Linked DNA regions of Homo sapiens: regions 1, 3 and 4 are each linked to region 2. The links are contacts of gene promoters, found by promoter capture Hi-C in blood cells and fetal thymus (Javierre and others, 2016). All regions are on one chromosome and are shown on one strand. Each heading gives the region's core, a stretch centred on a gene start or on the middle of the fragment in contact. The rest is flanking DNA. Distances are from core to core; before and after follow the strand shown.

What was found. The method cuts DNA at HindIII sites, captures the fragments that hold promoters and counts their contacts. A CHiCAGO score of 5 or more calls a contact.
Region 1: a contact is called between a fragment that was not itself captured here and the fragment with the promoter of ENAM in region 2, in 6 of 17 cell types (total B cells, naive CD4 T cells, non-activated CD4 T cells and 3 more). The highest score is 9.2, in total B cells.
Region 3: a contact is called between a fragment that was not itself captured here and the fragment with the promoter of ENAM in region 2, in 10 of 17 cell types (fetal thymus, total CD4 T cells, M2 macrophages and 7 more). The highest score is 12.5, in fetal thymus.
Region 4: a contact is called between a fragment that was not itself captured here and the fragment with the promoter of ENAM in region 2, in 1 of 17 cell types (total CD8 T cells). The highest score is 5.1, in total CD8 T cells.

The regions. Positions count from the first base shown.
Region 1 is chr4:72,287,792-72,295,216 of GRCh38, forward strand. It overlaps ADAMTS3 (ADAM metallopeptidase with thrombospondin type 1 motif 3), which reads right to left. Exons shown (of 22, transcript NM_014243.3): 20 at 3,064-3,271; 21 at 960-1,077. Among named protein-coding and RNA genes, the nearest start is that of NPFFR2, 260 kb to the left of the region's middle. The HindIII fragment of the contact is 9,952 bases long and covers 1-7,425 here.
Region 2 is chr4:70,623,551-70,630,379 of GRCh38, forward strand. ENAM (enamelin) reads left to right here and starts at 5,194. Exons shown (of 9, transcript NM_031889.3): 1 at 5,194-5,414; 2 at 5,891-6,004. The coding sequence starts at 5,951. The HindIII fragment of the contact is 672 bases long and covers 5,173-5,844 here.
Region 3 is chr4:71,704,161-71,710,772 of GRCh38, forward strand. No RefSeq gene overlaps it. Among named protein-coding and RNA genes, the nearest start is that of GC, 77 kb to the right of the region's middle. The HindIII fragment of the contact is 5,854 bases long and covers 1,716-6,612 here.
Region 4 is chr4:72,308,734-72,315,565 of GRCh38, forward strand. ADAMTS3 (ADAM metallopeptidase with thrombospondin type 1 motif 3) reads right to left here. Exons shown (of 22, transcript NM_014243.3): 12 at 4,944-5,089; 13 at 3,558-3,733; 14 at 2,315-2,448; 15 at 664-787. Among named protein-coding and RNA genes, the nearest start is that of ADAMTS3, 260 kb to the right of the region's middle. The HindIII fragment of the contact is 2,835 bases long and covers 666-3,500 here.

The sequences.
Region 1 (7,425 bases), core at 2,168-4,667, 1.7 Mb after region 2:
GATAGAGAGCTATGGAAATGGAGGCAGAAGGAGACAGTGATAGAGCCCAAAACCATCCAATATATTTTGCTTGTTTTATTTACTTATGTTTTGAAATGGAGTCTCACTCTGTCACCCAGGCTGGAATGCAGTGGCGTGATCTCAGCTCACTGCAACCTCTGTCTCCTGGGTTCAAGCAATTCTCCTGCCTCTGCCTCCCAAGTAGCTGAAATTACAGGCATGCGCCACCATGCCCAGCTAATTTTTGTATTTTTAGTAGAGACAGGGTTTTACCATGTTGTTCAGGCTGGTCTCGAACTCCTGACCTCAGGTGATTCACCCACCTTGGCCTCCCAAAGTGCTGGGATTACAGGCATGAGCCACCGCACCTGGCCCCATTTTGCTGTTTTAAAATAGCAAATTGACTAAATAAAGAAAATATACTCTGCTTTTGCCATACAGCAAGTTGGCAGGTCAGGCAAATGCTGAATTTTATCCTATGTGCAAGGTGTCTGTTTGAAGTTACTCTATGGACAGACAGTTATTGGAAATGGCTTTAGGGTTGAGTAACATTACCCACAGATCAAAATTGAATAATTTTAGTAAAATATTTCAAAATCTTTGCAAAATTATGCTTTTAATAAAGATGTGAAGTTATAGTTAAATATAACAAGGAAAAATTAAGTGGTTCCTATTAGCAACACAAATTGATAGACGTTACATATACATGGCACAGCCCTCACTCCAATGCCACCAGCCAGAAATGGCAGGGCTATAGTGATCATGATAATTAAAAAGTGTAGGACATTACCTCAAATGCTGATCTTAAAGAACTGAACTGGACTAATATTTCACAGGTGTTTTCCTTTGGTTATTTATCAGTAAACAAATATAAATTCTATAACTTCTCTCAAAAGGAAATTCTGCTTTTTGAGGTTTAAAAACATCAGAGCAGTGAAGTCAATTGGTGTGACACCTACCATTACAAGGAGGCAGTTGACAGGCTCTGACCGACTCAGGCTTTTCACCATCACAGTGGTCCCCAGCCCTGCAGAGGACCTGCCTCACCTCCGTTCCTTCACCGCAGGTCACTGAACACTGCAGAGACAAAGGCTGTGGTTACAGACATTTATTGCACCAAGACCATGCACATACACACACACACACACACACACACACACACACACACACACACACAAAGACACAGAGATCTGGAGTGGGTTCTCTATTAAGTAATGCTGCACAGTGGTTTTGAAGACAGATACTACTGAGTTTATATTCTGACTCCATTATTTACCAGCCTGGGAGCATTGTTTTTTCTACATAAGATTCACCTTCCTTATCTAGTGGAAAGCTGGGATAATAATACCTGTCTTATAAGATTGTTTTAGGACTAAATGAAGGCAAAGGAACAAAGTGTATAAAGCAGTAACAAAATTCCTGACACCTAGTAAGCATATCATATGAAAGAAGCCATGATTAATAACAATGGTAACATCTGCTGTAGTTTCTAAATACAATGTTGATGATGTCTGTTCTCAGGGACCCAATCATAGTATTGACAGTCCTCACTTCTTTCTTACAGATAGCAGAATTTACTGATAAGTTGCCTTGGATGGTTAATTCAACATCCTTGGAACTACTATTTCTCTGTGCTCTTAAGTTCATTTCTCTAATGAAAAGGTTTACTGCTCTAAAACTAAGCTCAGAAAGTTCCATGTAATGGCCCTAGGAAGGTGCTGTGGAGGAGGGACTTCTACTGAGACTTTGATATGTGTTATCATTATCATCCTATGTGGGTGACCTGCACTTGTACTATGGTTTGAATGTCCCCTCCAAAACTCAGGTTGAAATTTAACTGCCATTGTAACAATGTTGAGAGGGACCTTTAAGAGGTGGGACCTTTCTGAGGTGATTTATGGGCATGGGTTAATGCTATTATCTTGGGAATGGGTTAGTTATTGCAGGAATGGGCTACTGATAGAAGGATCCTCTGTGTCTCTCTTGCATGCCTCCTTGCCATGTGATGCCTTCAGCTACAGGAAGACCCTCTCCAGATGCCAGTGCCATACTCTTGGACTCTGCAGCCTCCAGAACCATATGCCAAATAAACTTTTGTTCTTTATAAATTACCCAATCTGTGGAATTCTGTTAAAGCAGCAAGAAATAGATAAGACAACTTGCTTGTTTCTTCCTTTCTGGGCTTATTCTCCACTTACTCTTTAGTCTTCTGTCTGCTTTTTCATGCCCTTTCCTCCTATAAACTATTCTCCTATGACCCCAAGATTTCTTATTTTGAGTCTTTAGAAATATCTAAGACAGGTGGTAATAGCTGACAATGCAACATTGAGTCAGCCAATTAGCAAACAAACATCATCTGGACAGGTATGCTAGGCACTAGCTGAGTGCTGAGGAAACAAGGCATACTATTTTTGAGAAATGTGTGTACTAGTGGCAAATATAGATTCAAGAATCAGAGTTATAATACTCTGTCATGAACAGCATGGTAAAGTTAAGTTGTACTGCATTTCAGATATACAGGAGGAACTGCCAGGAAAGGTACCACCTGGAAGGTGGTCATTTGGACTACGGAGATGAGGTTTGGTGGAGAAGGAGAGATTATCAGGTAGGAGGAGGGGGAGTACAAGTCAGCTGAAAGGTAGGAGGCTCAAACAAGCATGGTCTGTTTGGAACAGTGTGAAGTTTACTCGAACTGGGACAAAGAGTTGGAATGAAGAAAGAATAAGAGGAGTTAGTGCAGTGCCAAATGGTGCTGGGCCCTGCATTCAATATCAGGGGTTTGGAATTTATACTGAAGGAATAGGGAAGTCAACAAAAATATTAGACAAAAGAACAGTCATCTTTCAGACTTCTTCTCTATGTTATGAAACACATAAACATGGTTTGCCCCTAACATGTACTGTCTTAAAGCATTAATTTTTCCTAACACCTCCAGGTAATTACAAAATATGCAGTAGTTTCTCAGTTCACACAAAGCCTAACTGATGTTTAAGCCAAATTAAAATATCTACACATGCTTACACACACACTTTACTTATGCATGCACGGAATTCACACACCTACCTCACTCCAGGGTCCTGTTTTCCACTGTGCAGGGCAGGGCACTCTGTTACAGGGCCGGCGGCTCTCGGGACGGTCACCCATGCAGTATTTGCTGTGCACAGAGCGGTTGGTGCCATCAAGGAGTGGCTGAAGGCAGCGTACAGTGCGAAGCTGATAGCCAGAACTTCCACAGGTTTTGGTGCAGTGTTCCCATTCTTCTGCTACCCAGCTGTGGGTGCGGGGATTTAATATTGCAATTATCACTGGTATGTATAGTGTACACATTTCTACCTGCAAAGCCTAGACTTTTCTGCTCTCTAAGTGACTTGCAACCTAGTGGGCACACTGCAGTTCAGGAAGTGGTTTCAGAAAGATGGATATAATGGATAACTTTTTAACAATAGTAGGCTGAAACTTTTATTTTATTATTATTATACTTTAAGTTTTAGGGTACATGTGCACAATGTGCAGGTTAGTTACATATGTATACATGTGCCATGCTGGTGTGCTGCACCCATTAACTCATCATTTAGCATTAGGTATATCTTCTAATACTATCCCTCCCCCTCCCCCCACCCCACAACAGTCCCCAGAGTGTGATGTTCCCCTTCCTGTGTCCATGTGTTCTCACTGTTCAATTCCCATCTATGAGTGAGAACATGCGGTGTTTCGTTTTTTGTCCTTGCGATAGTTTACTGAGAATGATGATTTCCAATTTCATCCATGTCCCTACAAAGGACATGAACTCATCCTTTTTTATGGCTGCATAGTATTCCATGGTGTATATGTGCCACATTTTCTTAATCCAGTCTATCATTGTTGGACATTTGGGTTGGTTCCAAGTCTTTGCTATTGTGAATAGTGCCGCAATAAACATACGTGTGCATGTGTCTTTATAGAAGCATGATTTATAGTCCTTTGGGTATATACCCAGTAATGGGATGGCTGGGTCAAATGGTATTTCTAGTTCTAGATCCCTGAGGAATCGCCACACTGACTTCCACAATGGTTGAACTAGCTTACAGTCCCACCAACGGTGTAAAAGTTTTCCTATTTCTCAAATAGGATGTGGCTGAAACTTTTAATGCCCTATTTTTTTCTGCCTCTCAGTGACTCTGAAATCTTCTTCTTTCCTAAAGGATGATCTACAGAGGGTTTCTGAAACTCATCTTAAAGTTGCCCTGTTAGATTCAGGCATGAAGGCAGTTTTCAAGGATAGCACCAACTCACTCTCAGTTACATTGCCTAATGGTGTTAAACATCTGACAGTGAATCTTTAAAACAGAATCCATCTAATGGTTGCTAAGACACACTTACGATTTCTTTACATAACCTTCTGTTTTCACTATGGTTTCCTTCTCTCTTGGTCATGTCTATTATACATAGTTAAAAATCTGGTTCACATTCTACAGAGGATACACCTCATGTCTTTTTCTGGGTTGGACGAGGGCACATTTTTATAAAATCTGGAGAGTTCACTCATGTTTAAATATTTTAACTGATATGACTGTTTTATTTCTACAGTTGTTGCTATGAAGGCTACTTGACATATCTATACTGTTTGGATAATGCAGTTCTTCTTATTGGCCCTTACTGGGCCTGACAAGAGGTAAGGGTGGTGTGCATTGGGGCTGGGTAAAAACTGTTCACACAAATGCACCCGATAGAAACATTTCCAGAGGCATTTTCCAAAATATTAACCAGGGGACATTCCCAAATTCTAATGTCAGTGTCAGTGTCCCAAGCACTCTCCAAATCAGCTGTGGATACAACATTACACACAGTTCTCCAGTACACATGGTTACCAAGTCCCAAAGGGTGGTCACCATTGACTCCATCTGGTTATGCAAGCTGTCTGTATGTAATTCAGGCTAAAATGGATTTGCCTTTTCCAAAGTTACTTTCCCTCTGCAATTTATTTTTCTTTCCATATATATGAGGCACCAAAATATAACCATGCTAAAACCTTGGCAGTCTTTGGTATTCACAGTTTAAGACTGCTTTAGCTTGTCAAACTGGTGGTAAAATGAATGTCTCAAGGCAACTGGACTGAGGAATTTTGCTCAATTTTGAAGACTTCAGTGATGACTCTCTTTTGAAGACAAATATTATACTTCACAGATATAGGTACTTCTGATTACCTCCATTCCCTCCTAAGATCTCAGAATGAAAGTAAATGACAAAAATGTTATAAATCTAGAAAGACAAAGAAATTTGAGAGGAAGTCACAGCAACATAATTTTGGAACCTAGAAGACAGATGGACATATGGAAACTAACTCAGCAGATCTAAGAAGAATGAAGTCCAACTCAGCAGTACAAGGTGATGAGCAAACTGACTTGCACTGTAGAACTTTAGAAATATTTAGGGATTAGAGGCCTTAGATTCAGTGTGAGCTGTGAAAACAAGGGTGAAGCCAAGACTGAAAGCAGGATAACTAATGAAAAGTCTGTTTGGAAGCAGTTAGACCTCCTGATTCTTAACCATACAGGGTGATTTGCCCTCCTCCAACGCAGAAGACATGAGGTTTATCCTCTGTAGAATGTGAACCAGACTTAACTGGATACAATAGACATGATCAAGAGAGAAAGAAACCACAGTGAAAACAGAAGGTTACGTAAAAATCCATCTGTGAAATGGTGAGATCGCTTTAGAAACCTATACACATTTCCAGAACAGCCTTTAAACTGGCTTACACTCCCTAGGCAAGAAATTGATTCTGTTCTATGGAATCTTTTTTATAAGAAAAACACTAAATATACAATTAATTGAGGCTCTTTCAATAAAATAGCTGAGTCAGATCACCCTATAGTTGAGCCCACGAGCCACGACTGTAAGGCAAACTTCTAATCAGCCTTCTAAACACTGCATTTTTATACACGTATGAACATCCCAGGATTACCACATAGAAATCCTCTAACATAAATGATGGAGGTGGAGTGGGTGTGGAGAAGTGGAAGAAAAGAACTCAAAAGAAATTACTTAGAAACAGGAAATGAATCCTTGATATTCCAGAAGAGATAAAAGAATACATTGCATCTGTGAAATAAAAATCAAATGCCTTGAAAAAGAAATACTTGAATAGATCTCTTGAATATTAATGATATGATAGCAAAAATGAAAGGTTCGGCAAGTGCAACAATGGACAATAGGAGAGAAAATCCAAGCTACTAATGTCCCAGAAAGAAAGAACACTGAGGAACACGGGAGAATTTTTTTCAAAACAAAAAAAATACAAGAAAATCTTCCAGAGATAAAAGATATACATTTTATTTATTTAAAAGTTTGTGTCATTTGCCACAACATAGATGAAACTGGAGGAAGTTATGCTAAGTGAAATGAATCAGACACAGAAAGACAAATACCATGTGACCTTCACTTGTTTTCTAGATTCCATATGTGGAATCTATAAAAGTGGAACTCACAGAAGTGGAGACTAGAATGGTGGTGATTAGGGGCTTGGGTGAGGGTGAAGGAGTAATGGAAAGATGTTGGTCAAGGGGTACAAAGTTTCAGTTAGAAGAAACATGTTTTTGAGATCTACTGAACAGCATAGTGTCTATGGTTAATAATTATGAAACTGATATTTCAAAATTGCTAGGAGAGCAGATTTGAAATGTGTGTACCACAAAAAATGATAAGTATGTGATGTGATAGATTGGTTAATTAGCTGAGTTTAATCATTCCACAATGTATGCATACATCAAAACATTACATCGTACCCCATAAAAACATACAATTTTTATTTTTCAATTAAAAAACTCTATAAGTACACAGCACAACGATGAGTAAAAATGAGCACCAAGTCAATTTCATCACTGGGATTTCAGGACACTAGGAACAAAATGACGGTCCTACAAACTTTGAAAGACAAAGAGACCAAAACAGGTCATTGAGAAAGAACTGAGAATCAGAATGGCAACTGACTTTTCAACAGCAACACTTGAGTGTAGATAATAATAGAACAGTATTTTTGAGTCTGAGGGATGATATATTATAGTTTGGAGTAACAGTAAATCCCAGAGAAGAGAAACGTAGTAGGAATTCCAAGGAGGATGATGAAAGGAAACCCTAGGATGAAAGCTGGTAAAAAGTCCAAGCTGGAGCTGGAACACAGAGAACTCTCTGTTCTCTAAGACTCTTCCATTTCTATGGAGACTAAAGTGACAGGATACTTGGATGTTTAGTATTTTGAGGGGATTGATACTGAGAAAGAGAGTTTGGGAATGAATTAGGGAAAAGTAGTAGAAGATCAAATACATAAAATCAAAATATTCATTTATTCTGGAAGAAACGTTACAAGAAAGAAACCATAATAATCAATGCATGCTGTGTGACTCAGGTATTAAGAGAGATACATGTTAATACAAACCCTGAATATTG
Region 2 (6,829 bases), core at 3,944-6,443:
GATCATGAGGTTTTGTAAAATTTTCCCTCAAGTGATTAAGACTCTTTTCTCTTTCTACTCCCATGTTCTTTTCATCACACTTCTGTCAAATCAAATGATATTGGGATACCAATGGGTATTTTGAGGAAATTGAGATGGGGAGAGACTTAGTTTGGGTTTAGTGGGGTGTATTTATGCAATTCACAGTCTACTTCTGTATATAGTTAAAATATTGCTGGCCCTCCTCATCTAGGAACAGCTTCCAGAAATATTTCTACCTCCCATGCCTAACTTTGAATGCCTACTCATTCAACATGCAACCCGAAGGTGCAGGATCAGGGCTCATATTTCCATATGAATGTGTCCATTGAAGCTGGCACTAGAAATGTATGTGGTAGAGGGAAAGTAAGGCTTGAAATGTATGGAATCAGATGTTATTATGGTGGTGCATCAGGCAGTTAGGAAAAATATTAAGTTGCTTTTCTGGATTTTGTGATATTTGTACTATTTGTCACCTTTTTAAAATCTGAAATTTGTTACAATTTATTGTCGTATGAAAACAAATATTAAGACCGTACTTTCAGGGATCATTTCTATAGTTCATCAAAACAAATATTTACGCTTGTACCTAACTTTGTGTTCATTTTCTTAAAGAGATCCCTTAAAATCTAATTAGCTTTGGCTTCATATAACCTGGATCCTCTGTTAAGTAGGAATCAAATTTAGCTCTGAGTTTCCTAGTAACCAGAGTGACAGGAAAACACAGAGTGTTACATACTTCTTTTTATGGCAAAGGAGGAAATAAACCATAAAATTGTTGTAAGAAATGTAATGAGATATAATGTATTATTTCCATGATGAGATGACACCTAACCCATCTGAAACACTTACTGGGTCAGGCACTGTTGTAAGCACAGTGTATACATTATTCAGTATTTCCAACCCCAATGCCTGTTTTCTTAACCATTGGGTTTTATTTTCTTCTCAAGGTGACGAGAGAAAGAAGCTGATCTTGAGTACATATAAGAGAGTTCTTACTGCTAGAAGCCCAGGAAATAAACACCACCTCTGAGGGTTATCCAAATACTAATAAATCACCACCCAACAATAGTTACTCATTGACTTCACTGAGCAACTTTCTTATTAGTAGACAAAAAGTAGAATTTAAATTAAATAAAATCTGACAAACACTGTGATCTAGTTTCCTTTTTTCTTTTTCTTTCTTTTTATTTTCTTTTCTTTTTCCTTTTTTTTTTTTTTTTTTTTTAAGATGGAGTTTCACTCTTGATGCCCAGGCTGGAGTGCAATGATGCAACCTCGGCTCACTGCAACCTCCATCTCCCGGGTTCAAGTGATTCTCCTGACTCAGCCTCCAGAATAGCTGGGATTACAGGCACCCGCCACCACACCCAGCTAATTTTTTTGTATTTTTAGTAGAGATGGGGTTTCACCATGTTGGCCAGGCTGGTCTCAAACTCCTGACCTCAGGTGATCCACCTGCCTCAGCCTCCCAAAGTGCTGGGATTACAGGCGTGAGCCACCATGCCCGGCCTAGTTTCCTTTTTTCTATACTCTATGAAGATGCTCAGTTTTTCTTTGGGAGGCTTTTTGTTTGCTGTCTTTTTTTAATGAATAAGTAAGCACAATGATGTGAAACATTCTTCAGAAATCTTTAGGAAATGTGACAGTGAGCAGTAATAAAACAACTATTGAGAAAGCTCTAATGATAATAATAGGTAACATTTATCTATTTATTTATAATATTTAGTTGAAGTATATATTAAGAACTTTAAGTTATCTCATTAAATTCCTTTTTTTTTTTTTTTTTTTGAGACGGAGTCTTGCTCTGTCGCCCAGGCTGGAGTGCAATGGCGCCATCTCAGCTCACTGCAACCTCTGACTCCCTGGTTGAAGCAATTCTCCTGCCTCAGCCTCCCAAGTAGCTGGGATTACAGGCACGTGCCACCAAGCCCAGCTAATTTTTGTATTTGTAGTAGAGACTGGGTTTCACCATGTTGGCCAGGATGGTCTTGATCTCCTGACCTCGTGATCTGCCTAACAAACCCATGAAAAGAATGTTGTCTCCCATTTACAAATGAGGAACTGAGGTTTAAAGAGGTTAAGTCATTTGACCAAAATTCTAAAACAAGTAAGTTGTAGAAATCAGAATTTGAACCCACCACTGAGTTCTAGCTCAGAAAATTTGCTATCGTAATATTCTGTGCAGGATGGGTGGGCACCCAAGTCAGGGCTTGCATGAAGAGAAAGCTCAGAAAATGTTTATGGAATAAAGCATTATCAGTCCTTTAATTTGTGAGGAATTAAACTGCGCCTCCTCTTCTCTTCTGATAGAAAGATCTCTCGCATTTACAGCCTGAGAACAGGCTATAGGAATGAATGGTTTCAGAAAGAATTCAAGGTTGTGGATGCTTAGACACTATTTGGCACCAGTAATGGATCCCTAAGACACTACTTTGTCTCAGGCGCTTCATTCAGTGATCCTGCAGTGTTGGAGTGTTCTGTTAATACTAATCCACAGAACTTTACCTTCATAGTTGTACTTGGAGGATCTATTTGCTCTGAGAACTATGAGAACTATGGCTGAATTTATTGTTCTTAAATCCTTAGTAAATCATTATAAGGTGTAATGTGGAACAATGAAGTACCTTTGTGTATTGATCAGTCAGTCACTGATAGTCGGCTACTAGGAGCCAGGCATTTCACTTTTTTTTTTTGAGACAGGGTCTCTCTCTGCCTCACCCAGGCTGGAGGGCAGCGGTGCGATCATAGCTCACTGCAACCTTGACCTCCTGGGCTCCTTGAGGAGCCCTCTTGTCCTCCCATCTCAGCCTCCCGAGTAGCTGGGACTACAGGCACACACCACTGTGGCTGGTTAATATATTTTTTTGTAGAGATGGAGTCCCACTTTGTGGCCCAAGCTATATTTATTACTTCATTCATTTCTTAGAGGAAACTTATGAGGAAGGTAATATTGCCCTCATTTTACTGAACAGGAAATTGAACAGCTGGATAATTTGTGGAAGGTTTAAACTTAGATCTGGCAATTTCAAAACCCAGCCTCTTTCCCTTACATCTAGAGTATGAAATCAAAAGACTTTTCTGCTCCTGCTGGCTTAAAATCTAGAGCAATGAGGGGACCTTAAAGAGTGGAGGCAAAGGAAGAAGTTCACAGGCCCCCTGGAGAATATGGGTTCTTTTTCAGGGGGAGAAAAAAATGGTACATTTACACACAAATGCACAAATTCTTATATGCAATTTCTTAGGTTTCAGCTCCCAGGTTAACACATCTTATTTTAAGACTGAGAAGGGTAATGTAGAGAAAAAAATCAAAGAGATACATTAAAAAAAAAAATTTAAGCCAAATCATAAACATGTTTCACAAACAGTTGTAATTGCCTGAAGGGAAAAATAATTTACAAAATAAATAGAGATAAAGTAAAGGGGGAAAAACTCATAAAGGACTGATTTCAAAACATTTTATAGGCTGGACACAGTGGCTCATGCCTGTAATCCCAGCTACATTAGAGGCTGAGGCAGGAGAATCACTTGAACCCAGGAGACAGAGGTTTCAGTGAGCCAAGATCGCGCCACTGCACCCCAGCCTGGGTGACAGAGCCAGACTCTGTCTCAAAAAAAAAAAAAAATTATAAAGTTTGAGCTTTTTTTTTTCCTTTAAATGAAAGGAAATTTGGTAATTCTCCCAATCCAATCCAACAGTACTAAGAATTCACTCATTCAATAGCTTGGCTGGATTTTAGAAACATGAATTATTTCATGACAACTAACCACCCTTGTGGCCAAGAGAACAAGGGTAAATAGAGGAAAGTGATCAAAAGTGAGGTTTAGTGGCAACTCCCAACAACCTATATGGGTAAGGCCAAAATCAAAAATTACCCTCTACATGAATGGGCACAGGATAGGCCAGGTCATCCAGCATCAGAACTCCCATTTCACTTCCAAGAACACACTGTAGGTCACTGTCCCGTAAGTGTCCTACCATTTGCAAATTCATCTCAATGTGCACACAATATGATAAATACTACTCAGTTTCTACAAAATCAGACAAAGGCAAGCAGGTACTTGAAGCAGATTTAACTTTGCACATCTTGGATACACATAGAGTTAAAAGATAGTCCTAGCTTCATTTAAAGTCAAATATTCTAGCACATTTTTATTATTTGTGGCACGAAATATGTGGAGCAGAGAGGCACTGAGAAATACAATGCTATTTGGCCCAAAAGGAATGACACAGCACTTCTCTGTCCTTGGAAGAACAGCACCATGGGCAACCACTGGATTAACTTATATACACAATCATACCAAGTAGGAACAGGTTTTGCCATCAAGTTCATTCATTCTTGGTTTTTAAATCCCAACATTAAAATAAGCAAACATTGCCACAACAAATGTTTTCTCTTGTGAAGCCATAAGAGAACAGGAGAATCCAAGTTAAGCAAAGATAGCAAAGCTTGCTCTTGTCAATTAAAAGTGCAATTGGCCTATCTATTTGAAAGTGAAATCTTTATTATGGAAAGTCAGATTTCAGGAAAAAAATCCATAACATAACTGTTTCATTAAATTACTCAGGTCCTATTTTCATTAAGTTGTATTATCATAATAGCTGAGAGTTCATTTGCCATTGTACCCAACTCATCTAAAATTCTGAATCCCCAGTGACTGGATTATATTTGACTTCAAAAAGAACACTATGTCCTGCTAGCCTTATGTAATACAAAGTAAATCAAGTCACTGAGTTTTCACCCATGGATATAACATTCCAGTTCATTTTAATTACATATAAAATGTATATTAAGTAAATATATATATTAGCCTGCCTTTTGATGAAGGCAACTGACTTATGACAATAGCATACAGTTAATATTCGCCTTTGTTCCTGAAATATCTTTGTTATAAACATAGTTTCTATACTTTGAAAGCCAAATTCACCAAGGGAAGCATCTTCTAAATCTTACTGCTGTAAGCTCATTTTCCTGGACTGTTATTATACGTAATAAGAGACTTGACTTGACAGCTCCTATAATAACACATTCTAAATTTTAAATTCGATGTGTGTTTTTTACCTTAAACTCTTGTGATGACAAAACCATTTTCCTCAAAGCTGATTGGTTATGCAGGTCTACAACAGTGCTTAAATGGAACCTTGCTGTGCCAAGCTTTCTGACAAGGAGGAATCTTTTTATTTTGAGCCTTTTTGATACTGAACATGATATCTGAGTGAAGAATTTTTGTTTTATTATTAAGAAATAAATGTATCTTGCTTCTTGAGATCTCCCTGGCTTCAGCAATTTGTAGTTATTTCCACTATAGACCATTAAGAATATATTTCAAAGGCAAGCTAACAAAGTTCAAGTAAAAATTATTTTTTATATATTACAGCTTCTAATTGGCATTGGGTGAGTATTAGAGATTATCAACATAAATTACATATAGTGTCAAATAATGAATTTAATTCATAGATGTTGGTTAATTCTCCTTATTGCATTCCTTCTTGTTGGTTGTATAATCATTGTATGCAGACTAATCTTCTGATAAAACTTTAAACTCCTTGGTTTATTTGGTGTATTTGTTTTTCTTGTAAGTTTTTTCCAGCCTTCTTAGACCTCCTTTACTACTGTGACTTTGTACATTTCCCCATAGTGAAGTCTAGTTTTGTCAACATCGCCCTAGAAGTATCTCAAAATACAGTGCCTGTGTCATTTCCTCTCTGATTTAGCTTTCATCCTACTTTTAAAGCAACAGAAGATTAAACTTGATTTTGTGGCCCCCTAATACAGGTATGACTGGATAAAATAATTAACATGACATGTGCTGCCTTAGAACTGAAGCTTTGCTATTCATTTCATTTATTTGTTCCATTTCTATATTTTAGTTTCTTCTCAGGTTAAAGCTGTATTTTTCTTAAAGGCTTATAAAAATTTTGCTGAAAAAAATGTTGGTGCTTCGGTGCAGGCTTGGAACCTCTTTTCCTAAACTAGATAACTTGGTGAGTACTTTCATTTATTTTTGCCAATACATACAGGTTCTCAAACTAGATACTGTCAGAAATACACTTGAGAGGGCCAAACACTACTGAAATGTATCAGAAGACTCAAAGAGCATCTGCTTTCACAGATGGAATGGAAGAAGAACTTACACAGTCATTGTACTTTGTGGCAATCATTATGAGTGTTACTTTCAACTCAAAAAATAACTAATTATAGACTTTAATCACTAACTTTTAGAGATGGAAGGGATCTCAGTCATCCAACATAATATATTAATTTTACAAAAGAGAAAATGAGTTTTCTATTTGCAAATATAAAGGCTACATATATTATCAAGAATCACTGTGACAGCTACTAGAGAGATGAGATGAATGATTAAGCAAGGCAGAAATTAACCATCCAAAAGCACCCTTAAATCTTGGGCCATAATCTTAGAAACATTTAGCAAAGAAAGCTTTCACCAGTATTCTCTTTATTAGTTTCCACATATTGTTGTAACCTATACTAAACACTCTAAAATAACATTCAGCTGTTATTTTCATTCTCTATGATGTTCTAACTCTGAAAATCTTTAAATAGTAGGAAAGGTATTTACATACTACTGCTTCCTTTGTTTAATTACATTCTGCCAATTTTTCTAATGTATGAAAGATAACTGATTACACCCACAATTTAGGAAAATGTCCATTATAAAAATGCTAAAGCGTCATTTATGTTGCTCCTATAGGAAGTAAACAGAAGGGTGAGCATTGGCTCCAATTATGCTAGATAGATTTTATGTCCAGAAAAGGAAGAAAGAATGAAAGGAATGAAAACAACTGAGT
Region 3 (6,612 bases), core at 3,393-5,892, 1.1 Mb after region 2:
AGGTCAGCTGATTCACAACCTTAATTCCTTTTGCCATGTAACTCAATATATTTACAAGTTTCCATGATTAGAATGTGGACATCTTTGGGAGGCCATTTGTATGACTGCCATAGCAGACCAAACTAACTGATGAATTTTAGGAATCTGACACAGAACAGAAAAAGGTACTGGAGATGTTTAAGACAAATCTGAAACTAAGGAGAAATTTTATACATAAGCAAAGGAAAACTTATTTATATGTGACTTAAAGTAGAAATGGTTTTATTTTGTTTTTATAAGTTCTACATATCTCATTAATATTAGCCAGATGCCTATAACCTTATGTTTTAGGTCAAAAACTTCATAAGCATGAGGTTTGATTAAAAGTCCATTTGATAGCCTGTGTGGTTAGAAAACCAAATAAGTGCATTACATATGATTAAATGTAAGCCTAAACTGAATTTGGAAGTGCATCTTAACATGATAAATGTAATCAGGAAACACAGAAAGGCAATAATTATTGATTTATATGGAATAAATTGAACATAATTTCATTATTGGAGAAAACTTTGGAAAGAAAATAGAATAATGGATGGAAAAATACCTAAATAACTAAAATTATTCTTACATAATTTTAGTTTTTCAAGAATAATTACTTGATTAATCATATAACTATGATCAAATAGGGTAGATTGAAGAACTATTTACAAGGGGTACCCTTGTGTTGAAAATAAAAACATCTCCATCTGTCTATAGCTAAAGAGAAATATAATCTAGGATTCTGTCAGATAGAGGTTATCTATGTTGCTTTCAAATAAATTACATTGACATATCACTGTTGTTCCATGTTAGTTTTCCTGGTATTCCTGGTGAACAGAGGTACCAGTGAATCTCAACCTGTCTTCCACAGTAAGCACTCATGATAAATGATGGCATTCATATATGCAATACACATAAATGAAATTTAAGCTAATTCCCTGAGCAGTATTTCTGATGCTATCTTTTTGTCTCTTACTGAAGGTAATATAACTGATAGTTTGAGAATTAAATTCTTGTTATTATAGACATAATACAAGGGCCTACTAGCTTCTTATATTTGGCTGCCTTTCAATGCCCAAATTATTATCATCTGGGTCTTTATCATATGTGAAGTCACACAGTGCAGACTCCTTCATGAGTCCTGGGAATCCACAGATAGAACTTACCGTCATCTGGCTGTGGCTTTGCCCAGCTTCCCCACCATTTTTCCCACCCCTGCTATCTCATAACTACTCTCCATGCAGTGCAATATTGCTTGGCACATAGTACAAGTTCATTAAAAACCTGTTGAATAAACAAAGTTTATGGAAACATAAGGTAATTACAATGCAGAAAAGTAGAAATCCTATTCCTAAAATCTATCAGTCATTCCTCAGCCCTCAACTAAATTTCTAGGATTTATTCACTTTTCTTACTGAGAAAACCTCATTTTAACTTTATTCTTGCTGTCCAAGAGAAACCAAACCAGTTAACCCCATGATAATCTTTCAGAAATGCTGCCGTGACCACAGAAAATAGCCTTTTACATTGCTTTTTGGAGTAGTTAGATTTCTTTTATTACAAATTCAGCATTTCAGAACAGAATCTTCTATTACCTTTGCATAAGCAGAGGCTCATGAAAATGTTTACTCTAAAAGCCCAACTCCTATCCAAAAGGTGATAGAAAATTTATTTTTAGCAACACAAAATACCAATAAAGCTTTGATGTTCCAGGTTGTTTTTTTCTTAAACATTCAAAGAATCCAGATCAATATTTCCCCATTTCCTCCTTGCATATACACAGCAATTTGAAAGTGGTAAGCATTTTACAATCATTGATAAATCTGGCATTAGGAGAAGGCAAGGAGAAAATTTGTCTTGGTTTTTAGACTTATAGGGATCATGCCTTCCTCCCATTGTACACATGTAAAGATGATTTTGAATCTCCTCTATTTCTTTTTTTCAAAATAAGTCATATGCAAACTGCCCTGTGATCATTATTATTAGTAACATGTTACTAGTGACCTTTCCTCATACCAGTGTGTTGTAATAATTCAGCTGAGAGCACAAAGCAATAATTTATACCCAAGGGTCTTCATTCTCTTAGCTTTGTTTTCAAATTTTCACATGGTATGAATGAAGTCTTTTCCAAAAATTGTAATTTACAGATTTGGAATATAAAGATGTATGTGTATAATTGAAGCAATGACAACTCTATATCACAAATGTAGAAAATATAGACAATATAGCATGGTAGTCAAGAGGACAGGTAGCACTTCAAACTAACTAAAACCCCCAGAGGCCCCATGACAATAAAGTGTAGTGATTAAGTACCCACATCTTGGAATCAGAAAGACCTGGTTTTGAATCCAAGATCTACCTCTTATTACTGTGTCCTTGAACAAGTTATATGACCTCTCTGAGTCAGCTTCCTTGCTTCTAAGTAGGCACATTATTGCAGGTCTTAGCAGGTTATTGTACAGTGACAGATATAAAATGATGCCTCTAAAAACTAGAAGTCCCAAATCCCTTGGGCCTGTAATGCTGCCTTATATCCTCTTTTGCTGTGGTCAGCTTGCTCTCCTGTTCTCCACAGCCACTGTTTCATACCTTTTCACATTCCTAAAATCTGTGCCCACATCCCATCTCCAACGCTACTGAGGAAAAACAAAAAGCACTCTAAGTTGGGTGACCATACAATTTCTCATCTAGACTGAGACAGCTTTGAGAGTCAAAGGGGATGCTCTTATAACTTTATACCGAGACAATGAGTATTGACTAGGATTGTTCCAGACAAGCTAGGACACATAGTTACTTTAGTCATTACAAACTTCCCTCAATTTCCAATCACCATGCAAAAATAATCCTACCTATATCTGTGCTCATCCTTTCCTCCTCATCTCTTATTAGTGTGAAAAAGGCGTGGTCACCCCTCTGTCACCAAAAATCCCTCTGCTTATACTCTGGACCCATCTCTTCTCACCTTCCCAACTTTTCAGCTTTGCTCTATTATTCCCTCTCTCCTGTCTCTCCAACATCTTTTCAACCTTCCTTCTCTCTCTTTCTCATTGTCTTTCTCCTGGCTCCTTTCCATCAGAGCTATTCCCTACTTACAGCCTATTCTTCCCTAGAGCTTCCAGAATGGAAGGTAGTCCTGCTCACAACTTGATTTTAGCCAGTGAGGCCTGTGTCAGGCCCCTGAGCTACATAAAGATAAGAGAATACATTGTGTGGTTTTAAGCCTTTCAGTTTGTGATAATTTGTTAGAGCAGCAATGGTAAACTAATATACCTACCATCTGCCACATTGTGCTATTCATTTTTTTGATGTCTCATCTTTCTCTTTGTACCTTTTCTGTTCTTTAGTGATGTTCCCCACAGGGGGCGTAGATAAGTCTGAGTGGGTTAGAGATTAAGTTATAGTGGTACACCTGAAACTTTTAGCCTATTGAATATAAGCTAGCACACTTTTCTTGACCCTGGCTTTCCTCTACCCATGCCCTTAAACTCATAACAGACATCTTCAACAAGACCACAAATTTGTAAACATAGTGTAATGGTGTGAACTGAGGAGAAATAACCAAGCAGGCTTATAGCAAAAGTTGGTATTTTTATTCATTAGGAAATTTTTCTGGAGTCAAAAATTTAAATTTAGTTAAAATTTTACTATCTCATTGTCATCCCTTTAAAAGGCTTATGCGATCTTTTGCTACTTATTGTCTATAGCGATGAACATGAATCGGAGGATGAGTTGGGTTTTTAACAATTTTATTTTTAAAATAAGCATGTAGTAAAATTGACTTTTTTGGTGTACATGCCTATGAATTTTAACCCTATATGTTTGCTTTTAAAAGTTGTATAATTTTACATTTAGGTGTATGATCCATTTTGTGTTAATTAACACATAAGGTATGAGATTTAGGTAATGATTTTTTTTTTTTGGCTTATAGATATGGAATTGTTCCAATGCCATTTGCTTAACAACTATTTTCCCCCATTGACTTGTCTTTACATCTTTGTTAGAAATCAACTGGTCATATTTGTGTGGGTCTATTTTTGGACTTTTCATTTTTTTCCCTTGATTGATGTGTCTGTCTCTTTGCCAATGACACACTGTCTTGATGACTGTCACTTTATAAGAAGTTTTAAAAACAGGCAATGTGAGTCCTGCAACTTTATTCTCCTTTAAAATTGTTTGGGTGATTCTAATTCCTTTGCTTTTCTACGTAAATTATAGGATCAGATTGTTTGTATCAACAAAATATCTTGTGGGATTTTGATTGAAATAGCATTGTATGAGTAGATCAATTTGAGAGAAGTGACATCTTTAGTACGTTGAGTTTTCCCATCAATGAACATAGTATATCTCTCAATTTTCAAGTCTTACTTGCTTTCTTTCAGCAGCATTTGTAATTTTTACCCTGTAGAACCTGTACATCTTTTGTTAAACTCACACATAACTTTTTTAAGTTAATGTAAATGGTATTTTTAAAAAGTTGCTTTTCAATTGCTCATCACTAGTATATAGAAATATGATTGATATTTGTACATTGACCTTGTATACTGCAACTTTGTTAAACACACAGTTCTGGGAGGTTTTATTTTCTACATAGACAATCATATCATCTGCAAATAGGAAATGTTTTATTTCTTTCTTTCAAATCTGTATGCATTTTATTCCTTTTTTGCACCCTATTGCACTGACTATGACTTCCAGTACAGTGTTGCATAGGAGTGGTAAGAGTTGTACCCTTGCCTTGTTCTCATTATGAGGAGGAAAGCATTCAGCCCTTCACAATTAAATATGATGTTAGTAGTATTACATTGAGAAAGTTTCCTCCTATTTTTAGTTTTCTGAGATTTTTGGATCATGAATTGAATTGAATTTGTCAAATGCTTTTTTCTGCATTAATTGATTGAATTTTTGGTCTTTCTTCTGTAGAGTTTTTAGTTTTTCTTACATGTGGTGAACTGTTAGATTGGTGCAAAAGTAATCGCCTTTTTTGCCATTACTTTTAATGGCAAAATTTGCACCAACCTAATACATTGACTGATATTTAAATTTGCCTTTGCACTCCTAGAATAAACTCCACTTGGTCATGGTATATATATATATATACACACACACATATATATATACACACATATATATATATACTCAATTTGCTAATATTTTGTTGAAGATTTTTGTATCTATGTTCATGAGCAATATTGGCTTGTAGTTTTATTCTATTATCCTTGTCTGGTTTTGGTATTAGAGTAAGGCTGGCCTCAGAAAGTAAGGTGGAAAATTTTGGAAAAGATTGTGTGGAATATGTGCAATTTTTTTCTTTTAATGTGGGGTAGAATTCACCAGTGAAACCATCTGGGGCTGGAAATTTCTGTTTGGAATGTTTCAAACTACAAAATTAATTCCCTTAATACTTATGAGACTCTTCCCATTTTCTATTTCATCTTGAATGAGTTTAAGTAGTTGTGGATTTCAAGCAATTGGTCTATTTCATCTGTATTTTAAAATGTATGTGCATAGAGTACTTCGTAGTATTTCCTAATTTTTCTTTTAATACCTCCATGGTCTGTTATGATATCTCTTCTTTTGTTTCTATTTTCAAAGTCTTTGCAGTGTTATTTGGACCAGACCTATGTGTATAACTATTCGGTGGCCAGTCTAAGACCTGGGCGATGATTTAACTTTTAGTTTAGTTTTCAGAGTCTTTGGTATGCTGATTAGGGCAGATCCATGCCTGTATAGTTTGGAGATCAGCCTAGGAGTTCAGAACCAACTTTACTGGGTTGCTTTTCTCGGGTTCTCTCCATGATATCTCCATTACTTTCCAGTTCCCTGAAGCTCCCCTTTTCAGTCTTGCTTCCAGAAAGCTGGACTTTTATTTAATCTGTTCTGCCTGGCACTTCTGATGATTGTACCAGTGCTGTGGCTAAGTAGTAGAATGATAGAGAAGGAAGAAAACAATGGGGCTCACCCCACCCTCTTAGGTTTTGGGATCTGAGCTCCCCCACGTGGAGAGACAGTTTCTAATTCCTCAGAATTTTAGATACTTGCAGCATCCCCTGCCAAGTGACCCCTTGCCCACTTCTCAAGTCTAAACTATGGGGCTTCCCCTAGAGCTCTTTCTGTTTTCAGTGATGCCTACTTCTGGTTTTTAGGCTGGTTAGAGTTTAGGCCAGAGGACATCAGTGGAAAACATGGTACACACACGAGTGTTTAGGGTACTTTAAATTTGGTCTTCATCAGTCATCTGCCTGCTGCTGTTTACTTTTCAGAGTCTTCAAATGTCTACTTCGTGCATTCTGTATAGGTCTTTGGTTACATTCAGTGGGAGAGACAAGGTAGAATGCGCTTTCCTCATCTTACTCCACACAGGAATTGAATAGAAAATTTTTTATTAGATTGCAAAGTGATGTGCTTTGAACTGAAGGACTTTTGTGATAAGTTTCATGGACAACACTGAATATCCTGGTGGAAAGGTGATGCCAAGGGGATTGATTTTTTGGAGATTAAAGTTAACTTCTTAGTAGCCTCTCCCAGGGCTGCCTTAGCTCCCAAACTCATCATCCCCTGCCCCTGCCCCTTTCTAGCGTGCTTGAAAATCTCATA
Region 4 (6,832 bases), core at 833-3,332, 1.7 Mb after region 2:
ATTTGATGCATGAAGACAGCTTTTTGTTCCACCTTTGAACCTTCAGTGTATGTCTAAGTTCAAGTTATTGACTATGTAACAAGCATAAACATTTATAGAGATGAGCAATTACATCTCAGGTTAGTTTTTGGTTGTACCTCAATTTTGTTTAAAGTAAATTTTTAAAAATTATGTGAAATACAGATCCAAGATTCCTAGATTTATAAACAGGATAAAATTGTTCACTTTTAAAATAAGTAAAACTAATGTGATATTTTAAAAGTTGTATCTAAAATTTTGTAATTTTTAAACTCCTGATCAATAATTTATATGCAACAAGAATTCAAAATAAACACCAATTCTAATAATTCAATCTGCATTTTATTAAAAATGCAAAATAAAACACAGATTTTAGCTAGCTAGTATAACTGATACTGATTTTACTTGTTTCTTTTCTAAATTTAGTATGTATTTTTTTCATCATTGACGCTAGGGAGTATGAATTCATTCAAAGTGATTTCTTTTTTTTTTTTAAGTTCCTTAAAAGGTAATCTGAATAACAATAAATCAGCAGCTAAATTTTGATTATGTTTATAGAGAAAATGCTGCATTTCTAAAGGAAGAAGCCTCAAAAAGTACAAATCACAGAGAAGAATACTAAATCCATGAGAGACCTCATCTTACCAAGCTTCCTGGGAGTTCTGGTAAATGTCCCCTTCACGGTTCGGCAGTGGGAATTATCTCCTCCACAGACACCACACTTATCCTCAACCTTATTAGAACCAATTTCTTTATCACAGCCCACTTTCTGGAGAGAGAAGATGTCAAATGTGGCTAATTTTAGTGTGCCCAGTAGTGGTCAACATCCCAGAGAATGATGAACCCTTTGTTCAGTCATGGCCCACAGTCAGCCAATTTATAGCAAACTGCCACTGTAGTCATAATTTTTAATACCTCAGTTTTTTAAAAAAAATAATGGGAAACCAAATGACTTGTACCCTAAGTAATAAAGAATATATTTCCTCCAGTCCAATGAAATATTTACACCATTTTAAATTGTCATAGTCATCAAACACACATGTAATGAAAACAGATGTAGCTGATGCTGAGGAGACAAGAAAACAACAAGACAGTGCTTTTCCCTTGCTGCTCTCACATTTATGATGATGGATAATATAGTGAGTTGTATATTAGTGCAATCTTTAAAAGATGGTTATGATGTGAGACAAAACTTCACCAGGGTGGTGAAGATTTTCACAGGGGCCAAAGAAACACAGAATAGAAAAGCATTTCAGGAAAGCAGATGAGTTACAACAAAGCCAGAGAAGTATGTTCATGGAAAGTGGGTGCAGAGGTCAATATCTAAACCCATATTTAAACCAATGGAAGGTTAGTGTTTCATGATAAGGAAAGAACAGTGAAAAATCTGCATTGAATAGACTGCAGAAGACTTGAATACCAGGAAGAATTTACATTTTCCCTTGAAACAGGAAAATATTGAAGGTTTTCTGAACCAAGGCATGTTCTTAATGTAAATCACTGTAGAATAATGATACACAATACACTACTGCACTCAAAAGTATGGGATGAAAGGTGGCAGGGAAAATAAAGACAACACATACGTTTAATGTACTAGGTACTGCGGCAGGTAAAAGCTGAACAACACATACTATGCTTTCAGGAAAATGTAAGCTCAATTACTTTAGACTCATTAATACAGCACTTCAGTTTTGATGAAGTATAAAGGAAATATATGTTAGGAGCAGTGTTTCAGTTAATAAGATAATTTCATATCGATTTAACTATGAACACAAGAAATAAAATGCATTTTTAACCTGAGATTAAATGGAGCAAAAAAACATGTTTGCTTCTCTACTACTTTTGTTCTAATGTGAAATTTAGCCTTTAAACTTAGAATTGATTGGAAGGTGAGAAAGAAATGTCTTATTATCTTTACAACAAAAGATTAAATATACTTAGCACTGATTATTTTTAAAAAGACCTTGTATTTTAATAGCAGATGGCTACTAAAATACCCGAAGCAAATGCATTATTACCAATTTGTATTCCCAACCTAGAGGCCTCAGAGTTACTCAGAAAAGGCATTTGGCTGGAAATTAGGAAAATTATTTAAACCTTGATTCTGCCAGTGACCAAAGTTTGATTTGAGAAAGTACAATGTCTCTCAAATTTATTTTAGCTATTGAACTATTCATAGACACTTACTATAATGTGATTTCAAAGATAAAATAGTTTAAAAAATTAAAAATGTGCAGATGAATGACAGTAAACGTAGATAACGTAGAAAGCCTTTGGGGAAGCAATTTGAACTTACCACACACTCTCCTCGCACACATATGCTATATGGATCTTTGTAAGAACAGTGCGTTCCATCATGCACCAGTTGTTTCATGTAAGCAACATCTCCAGTCTCCTTGGACTGACAGTAAAGGTGGCATCTTTTCTTGGCTGCATAAGATGGAGGATAAAATTAACTATTTACATAAAATGGAATGTTTGAACAGCATAGTTTATTTTATTTTTAAATATAAGGTTTCACTGTGATTTCCTGAAAACAAAAGGAATACCGTATAAACAAATAAAATAAGGAGTAAGGAGGAAAGTATGTACATTTGACATTTTTTTTTTAGCTAAGGTGACCATAAAATTTGTCATCTAAACTAGAAAAGGGGTTCTAGTAATAACTGAGCAGGAACAACAGGTATAAACTGGGACTGCCCCAGGCAACCCTAGATTTCAACATAGCTCTTAAATAAATCTTAATTCAAAACCAGTTTAGTTTTCGTAATATTAGAGCACTGAAAGAATGTCTGTGATTTGACTCAATCATCTAACATAGTTTTTGCCTCTTACAGGATGCAACTCACTTCACCAAAATAGATAAAAACAATGCATTTCTTCTTAATGCATTGCAACTTTGAATTCTTAACGTGTATTCCTCTTTCCTTTAACATGGATTTGAACTGAACCCAGTGGTGCATGTAATCATATAACTATTTCCTTTCATTCACTCAAATAAGAAGTATGGCAAAAAGTTGCCATTGGACATATTTAACCAAAAATTCAGAAGTAAGAAGTGAAACATTAAAAGAAAATTTCCAAATATATCTTTAAACTATAGTAAAAAAGTAAAAGGTTATAAGGTATCTTTTGTTATTAAATTATGATCTTTCTCTTGGTCCTGACTCAATTTTCAAAGAACTATATTTTTCTCTAGTTCAGAAAGGAAAGATCACAATATTCCAGAAGTATTTCCTAGTAGAGGGATTTCGGTTGAATCAGGAATTCCAACATCTCTCCCAGGCGTTCCTTTCCACTGGTCTTTTCACCGCTGATGGTGATAGTGCTGCTTGCCAGGAACTATTGCACCATTCTTACCTCTTTAGAGAAAGGGTATTTAAGCCTTATTCTTAGAAACCCAGGAGAACTTACTCCTATAAGCACCAAGTTTCCTAAGTTACCACATAGGGATCAAGAGTCCATGGGGTTCGTGCTGGCAAAGCTTAAACTGTGAGTAACCATCCACACAGCAGGAAGGAGAGCACGAGGCTACTCACGGTCAGGATGTTCATATGGCAACCAGTGGTGTTTGGTATTCTGGTATTCAAAGTGGGAGTTTCGCTGCTGACACTGCTGTGCTCTGAAGTCCTCAAAGTGTTTTTGGCATTCTTCTGTGTTACAAAGCTGGTACTCAAAATTAACACCAGGACAATCCTGACCACCATTGATGGGCCTAAAGAAAAGACAACATTTAAAAAGGCCTTTTGGCTTCTGTCTAGCAGTTGAAGCTTGCAGACACAGTGCTTGAGGGCACAAAGCCAAAGTTTCTGGGCTGCCAGCACAAAGTGAATGAACTCATACTTCCTAATTTCAGTCCCTTTCCAAAGCACCCTTCTCTCCCTGCTGGGTGGAAAAATAAAACAAAACACAAAGCTCAACTTAAATCAGCTTTTCAAATCATATATTTTAAATGCATGGCAAAAGTGTGTAAGAAAAAAAAAGCATGTATATTGAATCAATAAAATGATATTTTGCTACCATGTATAAAACACACAGATGCAGCTCAAAGAAACTTTGGTCATCGCTCCATGGCTCGGTTCCCTCATATGTAAAATGCAAATAATAATGTATCTTCCTTTGAGGAAAACTGTGAAGATTAAATGAGTTGACATTATTTAAAGCACTCCTAACAACTCTGGCTCATAATGAACTTTAGCTGATCTTTTAATTTTTATTGTCTTTGTTACTTCTAATACCACCATCATCTCTTACTGGGAAGGCAGGTATGTGGCATCAGATAGTCTTACAAAAGACGTGCTCAGAGACATCCTGCTGCCAGAAACAGAGAGAAAAAGCTGCTCACATATTAAACCCTAGACAAGGCAGAATCCTCTAAATGTGAGAATTCAGTTGTTTTTTTCTTCGTAAAGATTGCTGAGCACACAATAGGGAATTCAGTAATTGTAGTCTGAGTGAATGAATAGATAACTTTCCCCCAACAGTCACCTGGCCTTCTATCACAATCTTTCTTTTGCCTTCCTCTGAAGCAATCACATTCCACTCCCTGAAGAGAGAGAGTCTGTATGCTTGGTACCGCTCTTTCCTGGACACTCTCTTGTTTCTGGCAGTCAATCTCGCAGTGCCCATGCCCACGCCCTTAGGGCACAGTGACCTACTTTCCTTGTTCAGCTTCTTAATATTCCTGAACAGCAACTTCTTTAAAAATATTCAATCTTCGTTTGATCTTCTTCATCACTGACTGCTTGTCACAAGATTAATAAATGGAGATGTATCAAAAACACAGACTGGTTTATGAACTGTGAACAATTTATTTTCCTGCCCTGTGTTTTACATGCACTTTATAAAACAGAATACTAATAACATAATATTGAAGTATTTTCTGGTCTCTCCAAAAATAACAAGAGTTACAAGGATATACTCACATGGGATTATTGCACTGGCGTGTTCTGAAACGAACACCAGTTCCACATGTCCGAGAACAGGAGCCAAATTTAGTCCATGACCCCCAATTGCCATCTTGTTTTTGCTGATTAGCATTCTTCCACATGCAATGACCCTTATAGCACCACTTAGAAAAATGACAAAAGGTAATTATTAAAATCACGCATACACTAAAGCTGAAGTTGTTATACAAGAACCATCTAGTTGAAGGGCTTTCTTACTGCTCTTTTTTCTTCCAGGTGGAGATGCATTTAAAATTATCCAAAAGCAATTATGTCATTAATATACCCTATTAAAGGGTAATTTAGACTTGTATTTTTCAAGTAGAAAATTAAAATGGAAAAACAACATTCACTCAGACAAGTTTTTAAATGATACATTCACCAGTAAGCATCAAACACTATAATCAATAAGAACTCTTTGAGCACCCAGCTTGCACAGTTGGTAAGATTTTACCCTTCATCTGTCACTACCTATATCATACCAGAATATTTTGAGGGCTACATGATCTTTTTAAAAATGATAAAATAAACTATGTCTTGGTTTAGATAATAATATAACATGTCTAAAACATATGCAGCTTTCAAAGCACTTTTATTTAACTTTTAAAATGTTTCATTAACAATGATTCTGAGAGATAGATGGGTCATACATATATCATCAACAATTAGATGAGGAAAATTGAGGCCCAGAAAGGTTCATAAGTAGTTGAAGGCCATCTGACCAAGAAGTAATTAAGTGGGGCTACCAGAACCCTAATACTATAGAGGCACCTAGCTTACAGTGCCTGGCATGGTGCTCAAGAGACATTAGCCATTTTCCTCTCTAACATTTTGACTTACTTTTTCACACTACGTACAATAAAAGCATTTGTTAAAACTCAACTTCTATAAATTTCAATATAACACCAATATATTTAAGAAAGTTGAATGTTAAAAAGTTAATTATATAATTTTTTATAAAGCAAAAATGAATTAACTCGTTATACTCTTGTTTTTAGTCAGAAGTTTATGATATTGAATTTTCCCAAAGCAAAACATTGTATACAAGGTGCTTTGCATAGTGCCTAATATAATGCAAACACTTAAAAAGACAGGTTTTATTATTATTATGCATATAATCCCTGTCACAAGTACAGTTTATACACATTTGAAATTGAGCTTTAAAAGAAGTAAATGCCATATAAATCTTCTGTACCAGGTTTTGGTCCTGCCTACAATTTCTTATTTCTAAACTAGTCAAAGCTTTTCAACTTGAGTTCTTAACATGCCTTTGTTTTGGGATCTTTGCCCTTATGAGTAGCATAGCTTGGCACTCAGCCAATTTCTGAGCATTCAATCCTGACTACACAATTTGAGATTTAAAACCTCTGGGCATCCTTCCCTAAGGAACAAGGCCAAATCTTCTGTATAAGTTCACATGACTTTATTTCTGGGCAACTTTCACAAGGAATGGCATGCCAGCAAGTCAATCAGATCCCACTACCAGGGGGCAGATAGTCTGCTGAGTTGCTTCTTCCTATTCTGCCAACAGTGGGCTGAATGGTAGTCCCAAAGATATCAAGTCTTAATCCCCGGAACCTGTAAATGTTACCTTATTTGGAAAAAGGGTCTTTGCAAATGTGATTAACTTAAATATTTTAAAATGGAGAGATTATCCCAGATTATCCATGGGGTCCTAAATGCTGTTACATGTATCCTTATAAGAGAGGGGTAGAAGGAGATTTGACCCATAAAGATGAGGAAAACGCAATGTGGCCACAGAAGCAGAAACTGGAGTGGTGCAGCCACAAATCAAGAAATGTGGGGTGGCCACCAGATGCTGGGAGAAGCAAAGAAAAGATTCTCCACTACAGCCTTTGGAGGGAGAA